Linked DNA regions of Homo sapiens: all the other regions are linked to region 4. Evidence: promoter capture Hi-C in 16 types of primary human blood cells and fetal thymus (Javierre and others, 2016). All regions are on one chromosome and are shown on one strand. Each heading gives the region's core, a stretch centred on a gene start or on the middle of the fragment in contact. The rest is flanking DNA. Distances are from core to core; before and after follow the strand shown.

Region 1 (5,220 bases), core at 43-2,542, 320 kb before region 4:
CCACAATTCACACAAAGTGGAAGCTTTGTAAAAATCCTGAGTCATCCTTGACCATTCACTTTTTCTTCTATCACACATCCAATTCTTTCCTTAGGTCTCTTCTTTATTTTCAAACCTAATATTTCTCATGCCCTCCATCACTACTTCGTTAAGCCTCCCTAGTGTATGGGTCCATCCTCTCTCTCCAAGCCTGCAGTAACCTTATAAGAATTCTTTCTGTTTTCATTCCTGCCTTCCCAGAGCAAACTATTCACATGAAAACCAGAGAGAGGCCGAGTGCAATGGCCCATGCCTGTGATCTCCACGCTTTGGGAGGCTGAGGCAGGAGGATTGCTTGAGGTCAGCAGCATCTGACCAGACTGGCATCTGGTCTCAAACTGCTGACCTCAAGCCATCCTTTTGCCTCAGCCTCTAAGAACCCCATCTCTACAATTTTTGTTTTTTTTTTAAGACAGGATCTGGCTCTTTCGCCCAGGCTGGAGTGCAGTGGTGCAGTCTCAGCTCACTGCAACCTCCATCCCCTGGGCTCAAGCCATCCTCCCACCTCAGCCTCCTAAGTAGCTGGGACTATAGGCGCACACCACCATGCCCGGCTAATTTTTGTATTTTTTATAGAGATAAGGTTTTGCCATGTTGCCCAGGCTGGTCTCAAACTCCTGAGCTCAGGCAATCCACCCACCTCAGCCTCCCAAAGTACTGGGATTACAAGCATGCACCACTGCATCTGGCTCAAAAATATTTCTAAAATTATCTAGGCATAGTGGTGAACATCTATAGTTCCAGCTACCCAGGAGGCAGGAGGACTGCTTGAGCCCAGGAGTTCAAGGCTGCAGTAAGCTAGGATTGTGCCACTGCACTCCAGCCTGGGTGATACAACAAGATACTGTTGCTAAAAAAAAGGAAACAAAACAAAAAGCCAGAGTGACCTTAAAAGATCTATATCACATGTCACTTCCCTGTTCAAAACCTTCCAATTGCTTTCTGTGTAATATCATACTTGAAATAAATCCCAAGTCCTTTCCTCCAAGGCCATAGCTAATCCATCCTCTGCCTACCTCTAACCTCAAATATTCCCATTCTCCAACTCACTAACTCCTCTCTGTTTTATTCCAGCTACACTGCCTTCATTCTTTATTAAACAGACCAAGTTCATTCCCACCACAGAGTTTTAAAGCCTGCTATTCTCCACGCCTGAATGTTCTTATCTGAACCTTACAAGGCTCATCTCTTACTTTACTCAGTTCTTTATTCAAACATCCCCATCTCAGAAAGTCCTTCCCTGACCATCCTATTTGAAATAACCCACCTAGCCCTAACTCCTTGCTACTCCTCCATGATATTATTCATTATCCATCTGCCTCACTAGAATGTAAGCTCCTTAAGAGGAGTTTCTTCTTCCTTGTTCAATGCTGTACCTGCAGTGCCTAGAATGATGCTTGACAGGTGGCAACTGATTAAGAAATATTTGCTAAGTAAATAAATGGTCCCACTCAAATGTCTTAGGGGTAAAGCAAGTGTCATAAATGTGTTTCAAGCCAGATTTAAGACAAGAATGGATAAGCCCTGAGCCAAACTGGACAATCAGCACCCTCTCTTAATTTAAAAAATGATGCCTTTTTTTTTGGCCCCAGCTCACTACCCATGCTGGAGTTATTCTAGACCATCGTTTTTCAAACTGGATGGGTCATAATACATTTAGTCAGCTGAGAGAAGCTACAGTCTACATCTCCTGAAAACCGTAGGTAGTAAAGTTGAAAAACTCACCTCCTTGCTAAGTTTCTCCAGTTGAGTTTGGTAGTCACCTAGTCTTGTCTGCACCCAAGTTTTTATTCCAGCAACTGGACCACTTCGAAGATTAGTCTCTATTTCCTTCATGTTTTTCAGAGATGATTCAATTGTTTCTATTTCATTAACAAATGCCTAAACACATAAAAGATGCATGTTGAGTTCATTACTATATAAGTGGATGCCATAATTATAGTTTGTCTGCTTATCTCCCTGCAAATATTACACAAGCAGACTGCTTAAGAGTCAGTACTTCTAACTACTTAAGAAATATTGTGCCTTAAGAAACTCATTTCACCTGGGTGCTTGATATAGCCATCTGCCAAATTAGACTGGAAATACTTGACTCTCAGAAGGGAATAGCCTTTTAATTAATGTAGAGAAGCCTGATGATTTCACCAAATATAAACTGCATGCACTATTACTAGCAAATTCATTTCTTGTTTTTTGTTTTTTTAACACTTTAAGTTCTAGGGTACACGTGCACAACATGGAGTCATTGTATATTGCTTTTCTTGTGCCACATGGTGAGGATTTAAGAAAAACATACTTAAATGAATTTGATGAACAGACACTTCTCAAATTCATTTGTTAAATATGTTTTTCTTAAATCCTCACCATGTGGCACAAGAAATGCAATATACAATGACTCCTAATGAACCAAAATTGTTCTTGTTCTCTATTCTATAACCTCTCAAAATTCTATAACCACGTCCAGAAATAAAAACTTGAAGAATCTGTCATTCTTTTATTAGCTATAAAGTCATAAAAGCTTTATGATGAAAGATATTTTATCTAGATGTAATGCTATGCTATATTCTCACAATTTTAATAATAGCAGCAAATAACATAGAAAAAGAACAAAATGTTATTTATGACAAGTTCCCCAGATCAGCAGAACTCACAGAGCACTGGTCTAACTGCCTCTGTAGACCTGCGTCGTCTCCTTGGGCAGCCTGCTGTTTCATTAAGAAGTCTTTCACGCCATCCATCCACTTCTCAATGACTGTTGAATCGGCCTAATCGAACATGATAACAGAGGGGGATATTACTTCGTGACGTTCAGCCTACTACATCTCAAGATCTACCGCCACTGGAACAAAGGAACTTTTTAAAGCTCCGATAGCATCGCTTTCATTTATGTTATTTCTTTTTCTAAACCTTCCAAATTTGAAAATGATTATTTTCTTCATTCTTGACTAAAATCCTCAAGAGATGACAGGTTAGTAACCACTCTAAAAATTTCCAAACGCTAGCTCTTTTTGCTTAAATGCAAGCAATAGTTATGATTTAAAATGCAAATTACAGGGAAAAAATGCATTTCTAGGTTTTATCAGCTATAAAATATTTTGCTCTGATATAATTTAGAACAATTTTTCTCTAAAGTTAGTAACTCAGAGCAGGAATAAACAAATAGCACGGTAGAGGGAATACAATAGATGGTTCTCATTTCTGCTTTTGGATGCCTTTTTATCTGAGAACTCAAGACAGTCCCCGTTCAGCTCCAATATTTCATCCAACATTTATTAAGCACCTACTATATATATAAAATCCAGCTACTGTGTATGGCGATAGGGGTTCAAAGACAAATGTGAAAGCAAACATTTTGCAAAGAGAAAGAGACTTTAGAGAGAAGGTAACATTGGAACCAGGCCTTAAAGAATGCAAATAAGGGCCAGGTACGGTGGCTCACGCTTGTAATCCCAGCACTTTAGGAGGCCCAGGCTACGGATCACGAGGTCAAGAGATCAAGACCATCCTGGCCAACAAGGTGAAACCCCGTCTCTATTAAAAATACAAAAATTAGCTGGGGGCGTGGTGGGGCACCTGTAGTCCCAGCTACTCGGGGTGGCTTAGGCAGGAGAATAGCTTGAAACTGGGAAGCAGAGGTTGCAGTGAGCCAAGATGGCACCACTACACTCCAGCCTGGCGACAGAGCAAGACTCTGTCTCAAAAAAAAAAAAAAAATGCAAGTAAGTAGATGCAATTTTAGCTTTTGAGCTCCAATACCAAAATCATTGTCATTTCTTTCCATAGGTGGGCAACTGCCATGTTTTTCTCTGGTCTTCTACTGATTACATGTTCCCAATTCCTTCCATGATGTCTGTAGGACATGATATTTAGGTATTGCTCACTACTCTGATCAACACGCTCTGGAAACTACATCAATTTTTAATGTCCTTAAAATATGCCACCCAGAACCAACTATTCTGATCCTTATAATGTTTGAATTGATCACAAAGATCTAACTAGTTTATATAAGGTTATCAGAGATTATCTCAAATACTTTGGTGAAATCAAGACTTGCCAAGAATGTTCATTTGTGAGCATTATTTGAACTAAATGAGAGAGCATCTTCAAATGTGAGATGTTATCACTCTGTGTATCTAATAATCTAGGCTTCCTCCTCCAAAAAAAAAAAAAAAGAAAAGAAAGTAGTACTTAAAGGAAATGAGTCTGGGCAAGGCCTATTATTGGTATCCATGTTGATTCCTGGTGACCACGACATTCTTTCCTAAGCACATATAAGATCTCTAGTCGGTTATTTATCTTACAGTTTGGCTAGGAACTGACATCAAACTTACTTTATATCTTCTGCTTCTAAAAACTAATGTTTCCTCTTAATTAGGACATTCCTCCATCTCCATTTTTCTGGTAATTTCTCACAAGATTATGACGTAAATGACCCTGAGATCAAGGGTAAAAATCCCACTTGGGATGTAGATTTATGCATCTGGAGGAGCTCTGAGTGGTTTTGCTTGTGGTCCTAAGTTCAGGCTCTAAAGCACTCTCAGTAATGACTATTCTATACTTTGTAGTTTTGAAGGCCATTCTCTGATGAAGATGGCAAGTAAAAAGTGCTTATCTAGCTAGGTTTCTCTGTGTCTTCCATTAATATTATACCATCCTGTCTAAGCACTTCTGCATCTCGTTTATTCTTGGCACAGCTTTGAAAGCCTTTCAGTTCCATTGCACACTTTCCCCAAGCTGCTTCCTCCTCTCTTCTCCAGCCTGTCTGACACTATTCCCACAGGTCCATGCTACCCTTATATATTTTCAGTTGGTTACAGGTCACTTCTGTGTTTGCTCCAGCATTTCAAGGTCTTAGCATAGAAGGCTTCTTGGGAAGACATGCTCAGGACGGGTAGAGTGGGGCATCCAAAAAAGACAGAAGTGCAAAAAGAGAGAAAGTGTGAATACATTCACAGAGTTCATAAAATGACTTTAAAAATTCTCCGTTTAACTTGTCACCACAGATTCTTGCACTGCTAATCTCCATTCTGCACTTTTAAAGAATGCATTACTGCTGTATAACTGGGAAATTCATTAACTCTAGTTTGAATAAGGAAAACTGATAGTCTCCTCAGCCAAAATTTTCAAAATTTATATGGAAGCATTATATTTCAAGGAAGTTTTAACCACAATTGGCTTTGA
Region 2 (5,013 bases), core at 1,203-3,702, 290 kb before region 4:
ACTTGGTTCTGTATTTGCAACGGAATCAATTCTTTCTCAGCAATTTTATTTATGAATTAAATATTTAACAACTATTCCTTGCCTCTATATTTCACCCCCCAATGGATACTGTCCTCAGTCTAGTGAGGCTGGTAAGATATGCACATAAATAATGATGCCATCAGACAGAACATGTAGACAGTACACACACACACACAAAAGGTATAGTTAAAATGTCAGATCATTATAGAACACGATGAAAGGTCAGTTTAAAACCTAAAGTGGTACAAGTGACTGAAATACTAGCACTCTATTTTTAAACTGTTTTTTATCATCAAATTAAAATTATTTCCAAATTTGCAATTACTTTACTGGATAGAAGAGTAACACAATGGTTTTCTCTAGCAATCGATGTCTTCTACTGCAATTATTACTATTACTATTATTTTTATTTTTTGAGACAGAGTCTCACTCTGTCACCCAGACTGGAGTGCAGTGGTGCCATCTCGGATCACTGCAACCTCTGCTTCCTGGGTTCAAGCAATTCTCCTGCCTCCATAGCCTCCTGAGTGGCTGGGATTACAGGTGCCCACTGCAGGCCTGGCTAATTTTTTGCATTTTTAGTAGAGACAGGTTTCAACATGTTGGTCTGACCTCAAGTGATCTGCCCGCCTCGGCCTCCCAAAGTGCTGGGATTACAAGCGTGATCCACCGCGCCCAGCCTTTCTACTGTCATTATTGAAGTAAAATTTTAACTATTCTGAGACTTTTTGGCCTAAATACAAGGTTCACAATAAACATAAATATTTATAAAGTGAAATGTAAATATTTGTAACATGAAATGTAAACATTTCATAAATCAGAATCAGGTCCCTTTTGTGATTCCTAATAAGAAAAATCTGACCACAGATTGAGGGCGGGGGGGGAAGTAGTCATTAACAATTTATATTTGGACAAATTCTGCAACTATCTGCCACCATATTTAGTAAGCCACAAAACATCACACACTTGAGTTTTTTCCCCTGAAGAGAATATAGTTGCTTCTTATAGATGGAAATGAAATGCATTTAAAAGAATCAAAATGGACACTGAGAGATGTGGGAATAGAGTATTTGCTTTTTTTTTTTTTTTTTTGAGAGGGAGTCTCGCTCTTGTCTCCCAGGCTGGAGTGCAGTGGCACAGTCTCGGCTCACTGCAACCTCTGCCTCCTGGGTTCCAGCAATTCTCCTGCCTCAGCCTCCTGAGTAGCTGGGATTACAGGCACCCACCGCCACACCTGGCTTATTTTTATATTTTTAGTGGAGACGGGGTTTCACTATGTTGGCCGGGCTAGTCTTGAACTCCTGACTTCAAGTGATCCACCTGCCTCAGCCTCCCAAAGTGCTGGGATTACAGGCGTGAGCCACCCTGCCCGGCCAGTATCTACTTATTTTTTAAACCACAACTGTTTGGCATTTGGGGAGAAAAGTTTTGTTTATTTGTATTTTGTTTCAATGGTTGCTTTTCTGGAAAGACAGAGAACAGGCAAAGAGCCACCAGTCCTATTGAAAAATTAAGGTGGCAGCTTTGTACAACAGATTCATTTGCTGTGATAACACTTAGTGGAAAAAATATGCAATTAATCCAGTGTTAAATCAAAGGTGTGACTAAATAATATTTTCTCATTAATTTCAATACTTGTTAAAAATCAAGAAAAAATCTAGGGAATTAAAGTTCACAGTGTGTTGAGTGGATTCATTACTCATTATTTACTGAGCACAAATTATATGCTAGGCATTGTGTTGATACAAATTCAAATACATCACCCAACACAAATCCACTAATAACTATGATGTCAAACAAATCATGAAAATAGCATATCTTCTAAGTACTAACATTCCAAGTAATGAAAACAGGTCAAATTAATGGAGCCAAATGACACAATCTCTGTGAATAAGCTTCATGATCAGTTATAAACTGGATAGAAATTTGATCTTTAAAATAATTATTTATATATTTTCCTTTCAAAGAAAAGTAAACAAGGCAACTTTATTCTAAAGTCACAATAAAAGATGGGTTACTTTTCACCATTTATTTTGCCCCTTATGGAAAACAGTTTCATACCTGTTCTTCCAATAATTCCTGCCACAATATATTGATTTCTTGTAACCTATTCCAGCGTTCTTCAGTCCAACGGCATACTGCTGTCCAGCGCTCACCAAGTTTCTAGAAAAAGGAGAAACCATCCTTTGTCAACACAGCCTTAAGAGAGAGTTATCACAATCCTTGAAGAAATTCATGATTTCCATTGTTCTTTATTATAGAATAACAACTTATAAAAAGTATTTTTATAAAAATTGCTTTAAAATAACAGACTAGGCCTAGAAATGTATGAATCAGAAAAACTAATTTCCATAGAATTGAACAAATGATTTCACATAGCTAGAAACTAACATAATAGAACTGTATCCTCTGAATCTTTGACTCCAAACCTGCTCTTTCTATTTCATTGTGGTTTTTATGAGAATATGACATTTTTACATATTATTAAAAAATAAAACAAACATATCTACTTTTTGTGCTTCAAATTTTTCAAATTTTTAGCTAAAAAAACCAGCATGTCTGTTATATTCCTTAACTCTCTTTTACATGCCAAGAAAATTTTCATCTGTGGTACCAAAATTATGAAAAATGTTTAACTTATAAAACCTGTTTTGAATAAGAGAATTTTTATGAGACAATAAAAAAATCAAATGATTTGTTCTGTTTACATTATGTGATCCATAAAAAAATTCCCCATAAGTTACATAAATTAGCAATAGAATCTTACTAGTATCAGCAATACTAAATAAATTTTATTAATTATAAAAAATCACTCTTCATGATTATTTTCTCCCAAAATCATTTTATTACAATTTTACAAATAATGATTAACAAATGTTAAAATTTATTTTTGTACTATATACATGTGAACAAGAATTATTTAATTCATATTATACTATTTTGATACTTAATATGAGAATAAGCTTTTCATAGTACAAAGGGGGAGAAAACTTAAGAGCCAGAAGATAGATTTCCAGTCTCAGCATGATAACTCATTGTCTATTTAAATCTCAGGAGGACTACTTAACCTCTCTGAATCTCAGATTCCTTACTGCTAAATAGTCAAGGCATGAATACTTAGCTCTCAGGTTATAATAACTAACTACTGCATACAAGTCTTAGAACCTCTGGCTGACTTTAAATATCACAAAAGCAAAAGGACCTCACGTGATGAAATTACAGTTTGGATTGCCTCACTTAATGAGGCATCATATTTAAATAAATTGGCAACGTCTTACCAGAAAATCCAAGTATTGTTCAAATGAAATACCAATAAATTTATCTGTTAAAGACTTGTAAAGATACACTATTGCCTTTGTGCAAAAAGAAGCAATTTTGGGAGGTTTCCAAAACTGTTGTTGAAATTCACATATTAATCTACCGAAAACACTGAGATATTGAATCCTACTAGGTGAAATTCTCAAACTTTACTATGCACATGATTTTTCTTACATTGCAAATTCACTGCATCCCTCCCTCACCTAGATTTAGGTAGTGGGTAGAGCCTAGGAATCTACATTTTAACAAGCTCCTCAAGTGCTTCTGAGAAGAAGTCAGTGGATCACTTAATAAGATCAGCTCCTGTGTGATATGGTTTGCCTGTGTCTCCATCCAAATCTCATCTTGCATTATAACTACCACAGTTCTCACATTTTTTGAGAGGAACTTGGTGGGAGGTAATTGAAGCATGGGGGCAGATCTTTCCCATGCTGTTCTCATTATAGTGAATAAGTCTCACGAGATCTGATGGTTTTACAAAAGGGAGTTTCCCTGCACAAGCTCTCTCTCTTTGCCTGCCACCATGCATGTAAATCGTGACTTGCTCCTCCTTCCCTTCTGCCATGATTGTGAGGCCTCCCCAACGATGTGGAACTGTAAGTCCATTAAACCTCTTTTTCTTCCCAGTCTCAGGTATGTTTTTATCAGCAGCATGAAAATGGACTAATATAGTAAATCGGTACCAGTAGAGTGGGGTGCTGTTGAAAAGATACCCTAAAATGTAGAAGTGACTTTGGAACTCGGTAACAGGCAGAGGTTGGAAACATTTGGAGAGCTCAGAAGAAGACAGAAAAATGTGGGAAAATTTAGGGTACCTGTGGAAGAAATTTCTAAGCAGCAAAGCATTCAGGAGATGACTTGGGTGCTGTTAAAGGCATTCAGTTTTATAAAGGAAACAGATCATAAAAGTTTGAGAAATTTGCAGCCTGACAATGCAATAGAAAAGAAAATCTCATTTTCTGAGGAGAAATTCAAGCTGGCTGCAGAAATTTGCATAAGTAACAAAGAGGCAAAAGTTAATCACCAAGACAATGCGGAAAACATCTCCAGGCATGTCAGAGGTCTTCACATCAGCCCCTCCCATCACAAGCCCAGAGGCCTAGGAGGAAAAAATGGTTTTGTGGGCTGGGCTCAGGGTCCCCGTGCCTTGTGGCTAGGTACTTGGTGCCCTGCATCCCAGCTGCTCCAGCCATGACTAAAAGGGGCAAAGGTACAGCTCAGGCCATGGCAAAGGTGCAAGCCACAAGCCTTGGCAGCTTCCATGTGGTGTTGAGCCTGCGGGTACACAGAAGTCAAGAATTGAGGTTTGGGAACATCCACCTAGATTTCAGAGGATGTATGGAAACACGTGGATGTCCAGGCAGAAGTTTGCTGCAGAGGTGGGGCTCTCATGGAGAACCTCTGCTAGGGCAGTGCAGAAGGGAAATGTGGCCCAAACAGAGTCCCTACTGTGGCACCACCTAGTGGAGCTGTGAGAAGACGGCCACTGTCCTCCAGACCCCAGGGTGGTAGATCCACTGACAGCTTGCACTATGCACCTGGAAAAGCCGCAGACACTCAACACTGACCCATGAAAGCAGCCAGGAGGGGGCTATTTCCCGCAAAGCCACAGAGGCAGCACTGCCCAAGACCATGGGAACCTACCTCTTGCATAGGCGTGACCTGGATGTGAAA
Region 3 (5,744 bases), core at 409-2,908, 270 kb before region 4:
AACAAAAAAGCAAGTAAAACTGATTGTCCCTCCATATGCCTGACTAACACTAGCACTGAGATACACACAGAAGTGAAGCTCAGCGTACAGGGCCCCTCAGAGGCAGGAGATCTGGCTGAGGTCTCAGGTTACCACCCTGGAAGCTGGTGTTCACAGTATGAAAATCCCTCAACTAACAACATCTTAAGATACCAGTTCCCTAACTTGCATGCACGTTGAAATCTCCTAGGCAGCTTCATAAAAACACCAATACCTCTGTCCAACCCCACCCCCAAAGAGTGTGGCTTAATGGGTCTAGGGTGTGGTCTGGACTTGGGATTTTTAAAAGATTGCCTGTAGTTCTAATGTGCAGACAAGTTTGGAAACCAGTGCTCTATGAACAAAGCTTCCTTTCTCTTAATTGGTCTGGCTGCAGAAGGATTTTAGAGAAATTGTGTCCTCTTTATTCTGCACAGATGTGAACAGAGCAAGGAGGATTCAGAGGCACCATCCCAGGCTCCAGGTAGCATTGCAAGAGCCCTCGGAAGGCAGGGAATTCCCATCTGGGGAAAGATAACCTATGCAGCTTCTTTCTACTTCACTGGCCAGAACCTTATCTGAGAGAGGAATCAGCCTGTCTAACAGTTGTCTACCCACTACCTGGAGGGCAAAGAGAGAGAATGACATCCCACACTTCTGCAAGAAAGAAATTCATCTTCAGGAGTGCATCTCTCTGTACTGTGATAGTAATTCTACCTCTAGAGTTAACATTTGTACCCATACATGCATCCTCTTTATTGGCAGTTTTATCTGCATGAGTTTGGAGTACCCCACACATAAAATAATAGAGTTGTATTTAAAAAATAAATCAACAAAATATAATCCTGAAAATCTGAATAAAAAATAGATGTCATAGTTTTTAACAACTTTTTTTTTTTTTTGAGACGGAGTCTCACTCTGTTGCCCAGGCTGGAGTGCAGTGGCGCAATCTCGGCTCACTGCAACCTCCACCTCCTGTGTTCAAGCAATTCTCCTGGCCTCAGCCTCCTGAGTACCTGGGATTACAGGCACATGCCGCCACACCCAGCTAATTTTTTGTATTTTAGTAGAGATGGGGTTTCACCATGTTGCTCAGGCTGGTCTCGAACTGCTGAGCTCAGGCAATCCGCCCACCTTGGCTTCCCAAAGTGCTAGGATTACAGGCGTGAGCTACCGCGCCCAGCCTTAACAACTGTTTTAAAAAATATTTAACTCTTAAATGTGTTTGTCTCCAGACTCTACTGTTCAAAACATTGTGTCCTCTCTATAAATCCATTCTTTTTTGTAATTCTCTCATCCTGGGCTGTCTCAGAGCAATAAACATTTAAGGTAATTTTATCTTCAATAAAAACAGAGCCCTCAGAAGAGCCAAAATGTTGTTGTATCAAAGCACTCATTAAAATGCTTTGTTAAAAATGTTCCGAATTTCAGCCTTTACATTTGAACGTAAAGTAAAATGGATACTTTCACTTTAATGGGTACCCACACTGGGTCATCAAGTATCAGCAATGACCGGAGACTCCGTTGTTTACAAAGATGACTTGCTCACCAGTGATGTTCCTGTGAGGCCTTCTAGAAGATCCAATAGCTTCCTTCCATCTTTGAGGTCTGTGAACATATCATTGATGGGTGGTTTCCCACTCTGTAAAAGAAAAACACAAATAAAATATGGGGTATGCCAACAGCAGAAACTCCATATATACCTGGGCAAATAAATGAGTGGCTTCATTTTTTGCTCAATTAAAATGTTGTGGATGATCTGCAGACTATCCAAATTTGTCTTTTGGGGGTTTTTATTTATTTATTTATTTTAATTAATTAATTTTTTTTTTAGACAGAGTCTCACTCTGTCGCCCAGGCTGGAGTGCAGTGGAGTGATCTCAGCTCACTGCAACCTCCGCCTCCAGGGTTCACGCCATTCTCCTGCCTCAGCCTCCCGAGTAGCTGGGACTACAGGCGCCCGCCACCACGCCCAGCTAATTTTTTATATTTTTAGTAGAGATGGGGTTTCACCATGTTAGCCAGGATGGTCTCGATCTCCTGACCTCATGATCCGCCCACCTCGGCCTCCCAAAGTGCTGGGATTACAGGCGTGAGCCACTGCACCCGGCCCAAATTTGTCTTTTATAGAAAGAACAAGTACAAATACAGAAATTTTTAAATCCCATAAAGAATATTTTAAGCTGAAATAAATTGCATTTTTCCTTACAAAGAAAGCAAATCAAGCTGTTGGGCATCGTGGTTCATGCCTGTAATTCCAGCACTTGGGAGGCCGAGGCAAGCTCAGAAGTTTGAGACCAGCCTGGCCAATATGGTGAAACCTCATCTCTAGTAAAAATACAAAAATTAGCCGGGCATGGCGGTAGGCACCTGCAATCCCAACTACTCGGGAGGCTGAGGCAGGAGAGTTGCTTGAACCCAGGAGGTGAAGGTTGCAGTGAGCCAAGATCGTGCCACTGCACTCCAGCCTGGGCAACATGGCAAGACTCCATCTCAAAAAACAAAAACACTACAAAGTCTGGACATAATTTCACACAAATATACAGTAAAGTGGAAGAAAGAACAATAAACGACAAAATAATAGGCCTTGAGTATGGCATATGTTCCTGAGAAAGCAATGATAACGAGACGCATTAAAAATGTAAATGAGCCTACAACATCCGGGTGCAGAGGCCAACTAAAAGTATAAGGACTGTCACTTCATCACTGCGTCTCACATCACAGTGTGACAATGTCTTCCAGCCTTTCCATTATGGGAGTACGTGATTTGGTCATCAATTTCAGGGCTGAGGTGTTCAGTCTGTATTTCTGGTTATTAATTTCTTAACACTTAAGGCACTTTGGGCTTAACAATTAAATACTTTTTGTGCTTAAAACTAGTACCAGTCCAAGATTTTAACTGACAAAGCTTATAGAATTTCTAAACTCTTTTTCCTGATAAATAGCATCAACTCCCACAGATAATCCTGCTCTAGTGTCTGATGCCAGAAAATCCCACTCCATTCACTGTAAGTTTGGTAGATCCTTGCCTGTCTGTGATACAATGAATTATTATGCAATGGGGTGATCACCGCATAGAAAATCAGGAAGCCTCGGCTTTAAGTCCAGTTTGACCTTTAACTACCTGGTGAACCTGGCTCAGCTACCTAACCTTTTAAATCAAAAGTCACTGTAAAGATCAAATAATAGAATATTATAAGAAAATGCCCTGAGAACTACAGAATACAATGTAATATTTAATAAATGTTGTATTATCTTGTATCGAATTACTGCCTTATATAATAAAATCTCCACAGAGATGAACAGTCCCACTTCCTGTCAATAATAGATATTTTTTAACCAATACTTCTTTTATCTTCTTCATTTCTCACTTTAAAAAATATATACATATCATTCATATGAAGCAAAACTTTACTCTGAGTTTGAAATGGAGGAGGGGGAAGAAGGAGCCATTCTGAAGTTTCCTAAAATTTGGCATTATTCCTTCCTTCCTTCCCTCGTGATTCCTTATCTGTTTTTATTGTGTGTGTGTGTGTGTGTGTGTGTCTGTGTCTGTGTGCGCACAAGTGTGTGTACCTGAAGAGACCTGAATTACAAAGATGAATAAAGATTCCATATTTCTGCACACTCAACAGCTTACCATTCAGTGGAAGTGATACTCTTTTTTAGAAAATAACAATTACAGTGCGATGTGTAAGGTCTGGAATAGAAAAGTGTGCCAGTGCTATAGAAGCACAGAGGAGAGAGAGACCCCAAGACCACTGCAAGCCAGGGAGTGGGCAAAGGCTTCAGACAGGAGCTGACCCTTGAACTAGACTTTATTTAGTTTTTTACAAGGCATAATTTAATTATCTTTTAAAACATTCAGATTCAGGGAGTTCATATGCAGGTTTGTTACATGGGTATGTTGTGTGACACTGAGGTTTGGGTCTCGAATGACCCCATTGCCCAAGTAGTGAACACAGTACCCAGTAGGTAGTTTTTCAACCCTTGTTCCCCTCCCTCTATCTGTTTTTAAACAGGTATTAGGTATAGCCAACTCATAATTTTTAGCATGTGCCTTTTTCATCATTCATATACTTCAGATGAGGGAAAGTGCAGTAAATTTTCACCACAGAATCAGTAAAGAATACACTGTTACTTATTCATATCTGAAACAAAGCTGCTTTTCTGTTCCCAGCTGCCTTTTTCACAGGCAGCGATAGATTCAGGGACAAAGAGATTTTCTCCATCAATCAAAATAACACAGAGATGTGCAAGATGCAGGGGCCACTTTCCAGAGGCAGAACTTCAGGAAGCCGGGTAAGGGGTAATTTCCCCTTGAGGGGAAAGTCCCCTGAGGACTTGCTACCCACTGTCAGTAAAAGCAATGGGCAGAAGTGGCCTTCGTCACCTGCCTACGTCTAATCCCCCTCCCCCACCCAACCAGAAGTACAATTCTGCAAAATAGCCAACAAATAACCGAATTCACTTTCAGGTCTTAGGCATAGCAAAAATATATTATATAGGTAAAGCGCATGGGAGAAACAAATGGGGTTATATAGGCATAGAAAGGATCTTAGAAAATACTGATGATGGCAAGGGCAGCTAATATAACACCTGGGCAGCCTGAAACCCTTCTCAAATCCACTCTCCACTTTCCAAAAAATAGTATAATATAAAACAACTGGCTGGGCACGGTGGCTCATGTCTGTAATCTCAGCACTTTGGGAGGCCGAGGCGAGAGGATCACTTGAGCAGGAATTCGAGACCAGCCTGGCCAATGTGGCAAAACCCCATCTCTACTAAAAATACAAAAATTGGCTGGGTGTGGTGGTGCACACCTGTAATCCCAGCTACTTGGGAGACTGAGGCAGGAAAATTGCTTGAACCCAGAGGAGATGGAGACTGCATGCCACTGCACTACAACCTAGGCAACACAGCAAGACTCTGTCTCAAAAAAACAAACAAACAAACAAACAACAACAACAAAAACAGCATTATATAAAAGAAATACAGGCCTGGCACGATGGCTCACGCCTGTAATCCCAGCACTTTAGGAGGCCGAGGCGGGCGGACCACGAGGTCAGGAGATCGAGACCATCCTGGCTAACACAGTGAAATCCCGTCTCTACTAAAAATACAAAAAAAAAAAAAAAATTAGCCGGGCGTGGTGGCGGGCGCCTGTAGTCCCAGCTACTCGGGAGGCTGAGGCAGGAGAATGGCATGAACCTGGGAGGCAGAGCTTGCAGTGAGCCAAGATCACGCCACTGCACTCCAGCCTGGGTGACAGAGCGAGACTCCATCTCAAAAAAAAAAAAAGAAATATAAATATTTATTCATATTATAAATAATTATGGATGTCCATTAATGACCTCATCTGTAAACAAGAAGCCTCTTATTGGCCATAGAATTTTGGGCAAGTTACTTGGCCTTTCTGCATCTATTTGTTTACCTGTTAAACTAAGATGACAGATGTTCATTAAATGGTTGATGTGACTATATCACAAGCATAACTTTAGTGTTTTCTATTGGCAGAAAAGTGTAATAAAATATCAACAATATCTGAAAGGACTGAGACAACAACTAAGCACTTCTTCATCTCAAGCAGGAAGGCAAAAGCAGGCCCTGAACATGAGAACATGGTAGTGTCAATTCACAGAGAAAGATCTCACAAGTCTCAGGTTTCATTAATATGTCATATGATGACCTGCAGGAACATATCTCATTCAAAAACAATTAACTAC
Region 4 (5,536 bases), core at 18-2,517:
ACAAACTGTCTGAAATATTTTGATTTTAGAGAGTTACTTACAATCACCACATTAAATGATACCTTTCTCCCATGCAGTGAAAATGACAGCAAAATGGTCATTGAATAATGAAATTAATTTTCTCTTGGGCATCTGTGGCAAAGCACATGATTTCAATGGTTATCTTAGATCAGCCCAGTGACCTTTACTGGCATGTTGTAACATCAGGCGCCTTAGGAAACTGAAAACTCAATCGTCACTTCCCATACCACTGCCCCAGGTTGGCAGGGCAGGCATTTCACATCTAGAGTCTCATTTTAAAGCAAGCCTCGCTTTTCAAAAGTTCATTAACAAAGTCTCACAATTAAGAGAGCAGCCCTGTGACTCATTTTTGGATACCTGTAAATAACAGCTCCTCCCTCTGCTGAGAAACGGCTGAAACAAGTGCGTGAGAACCACAGGAAGTAATACAGATCTCAGCTGGTGTCAGCGGAGTCTAGAAAAAGGCAGAATTCCCTCTCAGGACGGCGTGGCTCTCGCAGGCATTGCCACTACTTCTCTCCATGTTTCTAAAACAAAGTCTTACGTGGGCTTCGAAGGGACTCCTCGAAGGCTCTATCAATTTCTCCGTCTTTCCTGGCTACTGAGTGACACCGCCAAGTTCAAGTCAAGAAGTACCCATTCTGGTGTTTTTGACACAGTCACCCTACTAGGAAGTGAAGAGGTGATAATAAAAAAACACTCCAGCCTTTCGATTTAAAATAAAAGTAGTCTTGGGTGGACACTTTATAAAGGCAGCCTACCAACAGGTATCCCTAAAATAATTCTTACGAAGCACTAAATCCTAAGTCCCTCAGCCTCTGAAATTAAAAGTAATTTTAAAAAATCATTCTGCTTTATATGAGAAACCCAATGCTGTGTTTCCGAAGGTGCCCAGAGGCGGCGTGAGGACCTGCGCCAGATCCAAAATCCCACCTAAGGCACAGCCGCGGGTCCCGAGCCTAGACAGTGCCCCCGCCCCGACCCGCCCTCCCCGATCTCTCCGCGCACGGGGAAAATAGTCAGGAAGAGAAATGGGGGCTCAGGAAGAGAAAAACAAACCTGGACTGGGAGCGAGAGTGCGAACCGAGAAGCCCCTCTCCCGGCAGGGCGCGCGTCCCCTGTGGGCGCAGCGATGGAGAAGGAAACCTGTTGCGCGACTCCCGGCGGCTCCGCTCCCGGCGCCTCCTGCGGCCGAGGCTGAGTTCCTCCACGGCCGCCCGAGCTCCGCGCCGCCGCGGCCGCATCTGGGCGCCGCCGGCTCAGCCCCCGCCGCTTAGGAAGCGACCACAGCTGGGGACCAGGCCCCGCCCCGGGATGACAGCGCTGGGGCGCGGCGGCAGCCGGCTCACAGAGCGCGGGTTCCCGCCCCACCCAGAGTCCATGCGCTCGGGACCGCCCGGAGCCGGGGACGCGCTCCAGCCCCTCCCGCAAGCCCAGGGGCGTTCCCGCGGGCTGCGCGGACCGGCGCGGGGAGTGGGATGTTTGCCGCCCAAGACACTTCCTCCGCTCGTCCTCTGGTCCCCAGGGCAGGGAGCGCGCTGGACTTCCCCCGGGAATCCCCGCTGCGCTGGTGACATTTGCAGTCCGGTGCGTTGCCGCGGCGAGGACGCTGGAAGCCGTCTCTGAGCGTGGGTGTGGCTGCGGAAGCTGCGGCAGGTCCTGCATCCCTGGGACCCTCGAGGACGCGGGCGAGGAGCCTGCGGTCACACGGAGGCCGAGCACCGCCTTCCCAGAACCCTGCCGACCAACCTCTCTCCAGTCGGCCTCAACACCCGCCGGGCTCATCATTCTCTGGATATCAACTGAGCGTCCCCTTGTGTGCCCACCGCGCTCAAAAATACTGCCAAGACCCACCCTCCAGGTCCCGGCACTTTAACGGGGAGGGATAAATAGAAAGTGTGGATTGTGCCAGGTGGTGGTAAAGCACCTTGAAAAACAAGGCTGAGGCTGAAAAGTAAGGAAGTGATACTCAAAAAAGGAAAAATCGGGCCGGGCGCGGTGGCTCACGCGCGTATTCCTAACACTTTGGGAGGCCGAAGGGGGAGGATCTCTTGAGCCCAGGAGTTTGAGACCAGCCTGAGCGATGTGGTGAAAGCCTATCTCTACAAAAAATAAAAAAATTAACTGGGCGTGGTGGCGCACGCTGTGATCCCAGCTGCTCGGGAGGCTAAGGTGGGAGGATCACTTGAGGCTGAGAGGTCAAGGATGCAGTGAGCCGAGATCGCGCCACTGTACTCCAGCCTGGGCGACAGAATGAGACGCTGTCTCAATTGAATGAGAAGAAAAAAAATAAAACTAAAGAACGAATCCTGCCTTGATGGCAGAATGTTTAGACACAGGAACCACCTGAAAGCTCCCAGTTGCCAAAGATGGAACCATTTGAGCAACGAAGTAAACTAAACAAGGTAGTATTGGATTACAAGCCAAAGTAAAAAAATCCATGAGTCTACACTGATATAAATAAATAATTGAATAAATAAATAAAAGGCGGAGAGGAGACAAATCTCCTATACAGAATAATTCCAAATAATTTATGTAGATCATGTACCCTAGGCTGTGCACAGTGACTTCCTCCAAAATAGTACAATGTGGAAAGGGAAAAACAGTAGGTTTACAATGGAGAAAGCCGACAGACACTACCCCAGCCAGATGTTCTAAGCCAACGTCAACAATCGTGACTCATTGATGGCATGTAGTCAATATGATGTGATGAATGTGGCATATTACATGTGTGGTCTCCCTCCTGGAAAACCATAACCTCAGTCTCATAATGAGAAAAATATCAAACAAATTCCAGTAGTGGAACATCCTACAAAATACCTGACCAATATTCCTCAAAGTTGTCAGGTTATCAAAAGTAAGGAAAGTACAGTCCAGACGTGGCTCACGCCTGTAATCCGTACACTTTGAGAGGCTGAAGCGAGAGGATTGCTTGAGGCCAGGAGTTCGAGGCCTGATCTGGCCGACATAGCCAGATGCTGTCTCTACAAAAAATAAAATAAAATAAGGAAAGTCTGAAAAACTGCCGCAGCCTAGAAGAAACTCAGGAGACGTGAAAACTAAATGTAATGTGGTATCCTGGATGGGATCCTGGGACAGAAAAAGGACTTGGGGAAAAACTAAGGAAATCTAAATAAAGCATGGACTTTCATTAGTAATAAGAATCAAGGTTGATTAATTAGTTGTGAGGAATGTAATGTAAGATGGTAATCATAGGGAAATCTGAAATGGAATTTATGGAAATTCTGTACTACCTTTGCAGTTGTTCTGTAAATCTAAAACGGTTCTAAAAAATACAGTTTATTTTAAAAGAAAGTAAAATAAGAGGGATGAGGTATGTTATATTTTTAAAAATGGGTATATTGCAAAGCCATCTAAGATAAGAGAATCATTGAGGGAGGAAACAATGCAGCTATTGGGATTAAGATCATTTCAAGCCTAGGAATCAGTGGATGTAAAGGCCCCGAGGCAGGAGCATGCTGGGCTTCTGGGAGAAATATCAGCGTGGGCAAAACAGAGTCCAGGAAGAGTGATGGTGGTGGGGCTAGGAGTGGGGAGTAGAGCATGTAGGGCATTGGTAGTCATGATAGTCTTTACATTTTACATTGATTGAGACAGGAAGACTGAAGAATGTTTATCAGAGAAGCTAAATGATGTTGCTGGTTGTTTTTTTAATCTACCGTTTTGTTGAGGACAGATTAAAGGACAAAGATTAAAACAGGCCAACGAGTTAGAAAGCTGTGATGGTTAATTTGATGTGTCAAATTTATTGGACCATGGGGTGCCCAGATATTTGGTAAAACATTATCCTGGGTGTGTCTGTGAGGGTGCTTGCTGATGACATTTTTAATTTTTTTGAGACAGCAGCTCACTCTGTTGCCCAAGCTGCAGTGCAGTGGCATGATCATGGTTCCCTGCAGCCTCGACCTCCCCTGCTCAAGTGATCCTCCCACCTTGGCCTCCCAAAGTGCTGGGTTAACAGGCATCAGTTACCATGCTCAGCTGAGATTAACCTTTGAATCCATGGAGAAGACTGCCTGAAAAAGTAAATTGTGGATGGGGAGGAAAGGTGAAGATTGCTGGGGATTAAGAGTGGCATTTTGGACACCTTCAGTTTGGAGTTGTCAAGTTGTCATGAAGGCAGTTGGTTAGGTGAGTCTGGGATGGTGGTATATATTTGGAGTTCTTTAGCATATAGATGGTGTGCAGACAGAATGGGGATGTCTGAAGTCTGAGTCCTGGCATGCTCCAAAGTTCAGAGGTTAGGAAGATAAAGAATCAAAAAAAGAGAATGAGAAGTTCTGATTAGTGAGATAGATAAACCAAGAGAGAGCACGTTTCAGGAGCCAAATTAAAAAAATTTTTGTAAAAAAGAACAATTAACTGTGAAATGCTGCTACAGTGTGTAAAATTAGGACGGAAAACTGAGGAATGGGCTTGGCCACATGGAGGTCAGTGGTGAGCTTGGTAAGAAGAGTTTTAGTGGGGGATGACCAAAGCCTGTTTGGAGTGAAAGAATAAAAACATCAGATGAAGACAAAGAAATGGAGTAGAAACAGGAAGGAACCATATAGTCAAAGCAGTTTTTTTTTTTTTTAATTAGAAGCTATACATGTTTGTTTGCTCACCAGCATGAACCAAAAGGAATGGAAAGAGGGATGATATGGGGGAGAAAAAATGGGTTACATGCTGGAGCAATGTTCTTGAGTAGATGAGCAGGTGTGCAATCCAATGCACACATGGAAATTTAGGGTAAAACAGAAGAAAGAGTTCATCCCTGGTAACAGGAGAGAACAACTCCAAACTGAATGTGTCCAAAATGCCACACTTAATCCCCAGCAATCTTCCCCTTCCCTCCCCATCCACAATTTACTTTTTCAGGCAGTCTTCCTCATGGATTCAAATGATAATCTCAGCTGTGTGGTAGCCTGTAAACCCAGCACTTTGGGAGGACAGGGTAGGAGGATCACTTGAGCCCGGGAGTTAGAGACCAGCCTGGGCAACATAGGGAGATCTTGTCTTTACTAAAAATCAAAGAATTAGCCGGGTGCGGTGGTGCATGCCTGTTGTCCCAGCTATTCAGAAAGTATGGCAGAGATGCTGGTAAATGTGGAGGCAAGAACATATTTTATCAATGAAATTAAAAGCAAGAGCTGGACGCCGTGGCTCAGGCCTGTAATCCCAGCACTTTGGGAGGCCGAGGCGGGCGAGTCACTTGAGGTTGGCAGTTCAAGACCAGCCTGACCAACATGGAGAAACCCCGTCTCTACTAAAAATACAAAATTAGCCGGGCATGGTGGCACATAATGACAGGGTTTAGAGTATGGCCAATCTGAATTATCTTCCGCAATTGATCTGCTCACACCCAGCTGAAACCCCAGATTATTCTTGTTTTATAAATTTCTCTGGAGACCTTGGCTCTCCCTTCCAGTCTGGAGTTTTTCAGAGATGATGACCGATAAGGACCTTAGGGTGAAGCTCAGATAAAACAGAGCAGGCACTGGGTGCGGGGCGT
Region 5 (5,000 bases), core at 246-2,745, 340 kb before region 4:
TTAAAAATAAATTTTTTTTAAAAACAGTGTCTCACTCTGTTCCTAGGCTGGAGTGTAGTGGTGTGATCTCAGCTCACTGCAACCTCTGCCTCTCAGGTTCAAGCAGCTCTCCCACCTCAGCCTCCCAGGTAGCTAGGACTACAGATACTCACCACCATGGCTAATTTTTTTTTGGAAATTTGTTTTGTTTTTGGAGGTTTTCATTTGTATTTTTTTGTAGAGACAAGGTTTCATCATGTTGCCCAGGCTGGTCTCAAACCCCTGGGCTCAAGCCATTACCTGACTCAGCCTCCCAAAGACCTGGGATTACAGGCGTGAGCCACTGTGCCTAGCCAAAAATAAATTTCTATGTAACTATGAATCACTGTAATATTACCACATACATTTAAAGAAATATAACAATTATTACAATAAATTGAAAACACGTATGAATCTCATAATTTTCAAACATGCATTTTCCAAAAAATGAAATTTAAAAATACATGAGAGAGAACGAGAGAGAGAGAGAGATTGAGAGAGAGAGAGAGAGAGACAGAGAGATGAGCTGTGGGGCTGCTCTCCTCACCTGTGCGCCCAGGTCATTGTAAAGAACCTTCAGGGAAGTCAGCTGCTCATCCATCCCTTTTGGGTTGTCCGTTTGCTGTTTCTGGACAATATGTCTTCCTGTTTTAATCACAGTTTCCACTTCAAGTTTGACTTCACTCAAAGTTTTATACAGTTTCTTTAAAACAAACAAAGAAAAAGACAAATTACACACTGTGGTGACAACTTGCCAACTGGCATCATGTCAGACCACAGCTTACACAGATTGACAGCCAAGACCTAACTATGGTGATCAAAGGCCATCATCTTTCTCAGATTTGGTCTGAAGGTCGAGTCAAATGAAATCAAGCTTGTAATAACTTCTTCAAATCTGACAAGAAAATAAACTAATAGAGTTTATGCTCATTCTTTCAAAATCTCAGACAAATGCTTATGAAAGTACTTGATAATATAAATATTTTTCCTACATAAAATGGGAAAACATTAGGACTAAAAACAGAATGTTTATCACAATTAAAATTACATTTTTAAAAAATCTTGCATGTTATGACTAAAACAAGCCAACACTGGCTACTGCTGTCTGTTGGATTTGGAATTATTAACATTTATTTCTATTTCTCAGAAGTACTAAGTCTACCACAATGAACATATATAATTTGTATGATAAAAAATACAAAACTCGATATATCAAGATGTATATAACTATAAGTAAACAGATTTCTGATGCAAATCAAAACCACAATAAGATACTATCTCACACCAGTCTGAATGACCATTATTAAAAAGTCAAAAAACAACAGATGCTGGCAAGGCTGCAGAGAAAAGGGAACACCATACACTGTTGGTAGGATTGTAAATCAGTTCAGCCCCTAGGGAAAGCAGTTTGGAAATATCTCAAAGAACTAAACATAGAATTATTATTCAACCCAGAAATCCTATTACTGGGTATATAAGTAAAGGAGGATAATCGTTCTACCAAAAGGACACATGCACTCCCGTGTTTATCACACCACTACACACAATAGCAAAGACATGTCATCAATCTAGGTGCCCATCAATGGGGGAATGGATAAAGAAAACGTGGTACAAATACACCACGGAACACTACACAGCCATAAAAAATGAAATCATGTCCTTTGCAGCAGCATGAATGCAGCTCAAGGCCATTATCCTAAGTAAATTAATTCAGGAACAGAAAACCAAATACTAAATGTTCTCACTTATAAGTGGGAGTTAAACAATGGGCACACATGCACATAAAGATGGAAAGCAAAGACAATGGGACTCCAAAAGGAGGGAAGGAGGAAAGGGGCAAGAGCTGAAAAACTACCAATTGGGTACTACATTTATTATTTGGGTGATGGGTTCAGTCGAAGCCCAAACCTCAGCATCATACAATATATCCATGTATCAAACGTGCACATGTACTTCCTGAACCTAAAAGTCTTCAAAAATTAAAAATAAAAATAAATTTAAATATAAAAAAAGAAATCGTAGTTCTGTAGGTCAAATTCAGAGCTGTCTTCTTCCTAGTTACCTGAAACCAAAAAGCTTTATTCTAAACAGCTTCTCTTGACACCTATACATCATCATCTCAACATCTCATAGGACGCTGTCATGTAACAGACCCCTGAACTATGTATGTTCCATGAAGTCAAGGACAGCACTTTCTCTGATTACCATTATGTCACAATAATCAAATAAATACTTACATACATGCACATATATATTAAAATTTATCCTTTGTTTTGAAAAGCACAAAGAACTGTCCCTATACCTCTCCTGTCCTAAAGAGTCTCATCTTAAGTTCTGTGATTCTCAAGCAGAACACTAATTCTAAGATTGTGTCCCCTTAGCCACATTATTTTTAAATTTCTATTCAATTGAATTATAAAGTTCAAGACTAAAAAAGTAATAAGGCCTTATATATCATTTCTTCTTTCCTATCTTAAGGTTTAAATTTCTATTGAAATTTTTATTTTCCTAGAAAATGGAATTTTTACGATATCCATTCTAAGTATGGTTCTTCTAGCTAATTCAAATTTATCCTTGAAAACTTTGCTTATTAGTCACACTCTGCTGAAGCCCTCCTAACTTCACATGGTGATTAAGCTGTATTTCTTTTGTTTTGGTTTTTGTCATCATGTTATATACATGTCTATTCTAGTTTCCTTAGCTATCTCTCTTATCTCTTCTAATTTCTTTGGAGGGAAAGACCACACTTCTTATTTTTTAACACGTTTTCCATCATCAATCCTTATGTTTAGCACACTGTAGACTAGTGATCACTGGACACACTAGGCATGTACTTGCTAGACCAAGCCATAACAGCTGCTGAAAAAGCCACTGGATGTGCCAATCACCCAAAAGCCTCACCATACACTTGTCCAGGTGCGTCTGTATGACGTCAGGGTCTACGTCCTTCACATCCAGAACGTGAAGTTCTGCTTTCACGCCATCCAGCACACGCTTGCAGTCCAGCATGCGCTGCTCGAAGTTAGCTGGCTTCTGGAAAAGCTGGAACTTTGTGGACACCTCTCGGAGTTTCCTCTGTTTGCAGAAATGAAAATATGCAATTCCCATCAGGATGATTATCTCTCTCATCATGAGCATAACAGATACTACTAAAAATTTGTACCATAAAGTACCAAAAGAAAAAAATTCAGAAATATGACCCAAAATAAAAAACTCCTAATGAATCTCAGTGAGGGTACCCGATCACCTAAGTGAACTGCATAGCCCAGTGTCAAAAATTACAACACTCAGTGTCTCAATCTCAGAAGTAATAGATTTGGATAAGAAATTTAGATAAAGCTGACCTCACTGGAATTAAAACTTCATGTTCAAAAAGATAGTTCAGGAACCTAGAACTCAAAATGCCCTTCATCACAAGTTCAGAGTGAAAGTCAATGTCATATCAACCATGAAAGAACTAAATGATGCTGCATCCAATTCATGCTCGGCCTGCCCACAGCATCAGCCACACGATACTGACAGAGGCTCTGCATTAAAGAAAAAGTGTATATAAAGCTAACTTCTAAATCTGGCTCACTCTCTTGTTTCTCATCTCAGCTATCAAAATCAGATTTCATATTTTTCCACACATGCAACAATTTGTTTCTGCTGCCCTAGGATGCAACCTTCAACACATCATCACTCCCATCCCATGGTTTACATCACAAAGAATACAAACGGTGCCCAAGTAATCAATTCTTTCTCTTTTTTGAAGAAAATTCCCAACAAGTTGAAAAGTAAAAGGAAGCTCCTGGCCTTCTTTACCTGTAGCACATCCATCTGACTTCCTCCTCTGGCAGTCCTACTCTCTGGGGAGGTCAGGGGCTGAGAACGCATATTTCTTCTCAACTCCTCTAGGGTTAGCTCATGGGCTGAGATCTCTGCTTGGATTTTCTAAAAAGAGATTGGAAAGGGGAGAGGATGTCCTTTTTTTTTTACTTAAGTATAAAAAGAGACAATACAAAAGTTCTATATCGTTGTGTAATACATGATATCGTATTTTACATAATGTTGACCTCCACAGAAGCTTTAATAAGTTTTTGTAGGCCAGGTGCGGTGGCTTATGCCTGTAATCCCAACACTTTGGGAGGCCGAGGCGGGTGGATCACGACATCAGGAGTTCAAGACCAGCCTGGCCAAGATGGTGAAACCCCATCTCTACTAAAAATACAAAAATTAGCTGGGCACGGTGGCGGGCGCCTATAATCCCAGCTACTCGGGAGGCTGAGGCAGGAGAATTGCTTGAACCTGTGGGGCAGAGTTTGCAGTGAGCCGAGATCGCGCCACTGCACTCTAGCCTGGGCAACAGAGTGAGAATCCGTCTAAAAAATAATAATAATACGTTTTTGTATAATAATAATAATATGGCCCACTGCATGGTATGACTATTGTACATGACGCACCTGCTAAGGGCTTTGCATTTGTCGTTTCTAATGTTCACAACTTATTTATAAGGAAGGAATTGTCCCAACTTCACAGCTAAGAAAACTACAATTTAAAATATACAGGACTTTTCAGCCAGGCACAGTGGCTCACGCCTGTAATCCCAGCATTTTGGGAGGCCGAGGAAGGTGGATCACCTGAAGTCAGGAGTTTGAGACTAGCCTGGACAATATGGCAAAACCCCGTCTCTACTAAAAATACAAAAATTATTGGGAGGCCGAGGCAGGCAGATCACTTGAAGTCAGGAGTTCAAGACCAGCCTGGCCAACATGGCGAAACCCCGTCTCTACTAAAACTACAAAAAATTAGCCGGGCGTGGTGGCGCGTGCTTGTAGTCCCAGTTATTCGGGAGGCTGAGGCAGGAGAGTCACTTGAACCCAGGAGGCGGAGGTTGCAGTGAGCCAAGATCGTGCCACTGCACTCCAGCCTGGGTGACATAGTGGGATTCTGTCTCAAATAAATAAATAAAATAAAATAAAATAAAATAAAATAAACTATAT

What was found. The method cuts DNA at HindIII sites, captures the fragments that hold promoters and counts their contacts. A CHiCAGO score of 5 or more calls a contact.
Region 1: a fragment that was not itself captured here is called in contact with the fragment with the promoter of STX11 in region 4 in 3 of 17 cell types (total CD8 T cells, naive CD4 T cells and naive B cells); the score reaches 6.8 in total CD8 T cells.
Region 2: a contact is called between a fragment that was not itself captured here and the fragment with the promoter of STX11 in region 4, in 5 of 17 cell types (naive B cells, total CD8 T cells, total B cells and 2 more). The highest score is 6.4, in naive B cells.
Region 3: a contact is called between a fragment that was not itself captured here and the fragment with the promoter of STX11 in region 4, in 4 of 17 cell types (total B cells, naive B cells, naive CD8 T cells and 1 more). The highest score is 7.2, in total B cells.
Region 5: a fragment that was not itself captured here is called in contact with the fragment with the promoter of STX11 in region 4 in 1 of 17 cell types (megakaryocytes); the score reaches 5.3 in megakaryocytes.

What each region holds. Positions count from the first base shown.
Region 1 is chr6:144,471,304-144,476,523 of GRCh38, reverse strand. UTRN (utrophin) reads right to left here. Exons shown (of 75, transcript NM_007124.3): 24 at 2,691-2,804; 25 at 1,765-1,920. Among named protein-coding and RNA genes, the nearest start is that of SNORA98, 68 kb to the right of the region's middle. RefSeq lists an enhancer at 2,320-3,519. The HindIII fragment of the contact is 2,534 bases long and covers 26-2,559 here.
Region 2 is chr6:144,441,452-144,446,464 of GRCh38, reverse strand. It overlaps UTRN (utrophin), which reads right to left. Exons shown (of 75, transcript NM_007124.3): 14 at 2,083-2,184. Among named protein-coding and RNA genes, the nearest start is that of SNORA98, 38 kb to the right of the region's middle. The HindIII fragment of the contact is 1,068 bases long and covers 1,919-2,986 here.
Region 3 is chr6:144,417,794-144,423,537 of GRCh38, reverse strand. It overlaps UTRN (utrophin), which reads right to left. Exons shown (of 75, transcript NM_007124.3): 4 at 1,568-1,660. Among named protein-coding and RNA genes, the nearest start is that of SNORA98, 15 kb to the right of the region's middle. The HindIII fragment of the contact is 2,541 bases long and covers 388-2,928 here.
Region 4 is chr6:144,146,248-144,151,783 of GRCh38, reverse strand. It overlaps STX11 (syntaxin 11), which reads right to left and starts at 1,267. Exons shown (of 2, transcript NM_003764.4): 1 at 1,081-1,267. RefSeq lists a silencer at 1,141-1,580. The HindIII fragment of the contact is 10,810 bases long and covers 1-5,536 here.
Region 5 is chr6:144,489,022-144,494,021 of GRCh38, reverse strand. It overlaps UTRN (utrophin), which reads right to left. Exons shown (of 75, transcript NM_007124.3): 31 at 3,823-3,951; 32 at 2,920-3,093; 33 at 566-721. Among named protein-coding and RNA genes, the nearest start is that of SNORA98, 86 kb to the right of the region's middle. The HindIII fragment of the contact is 1,202 bases long and covers 895-2,096 here.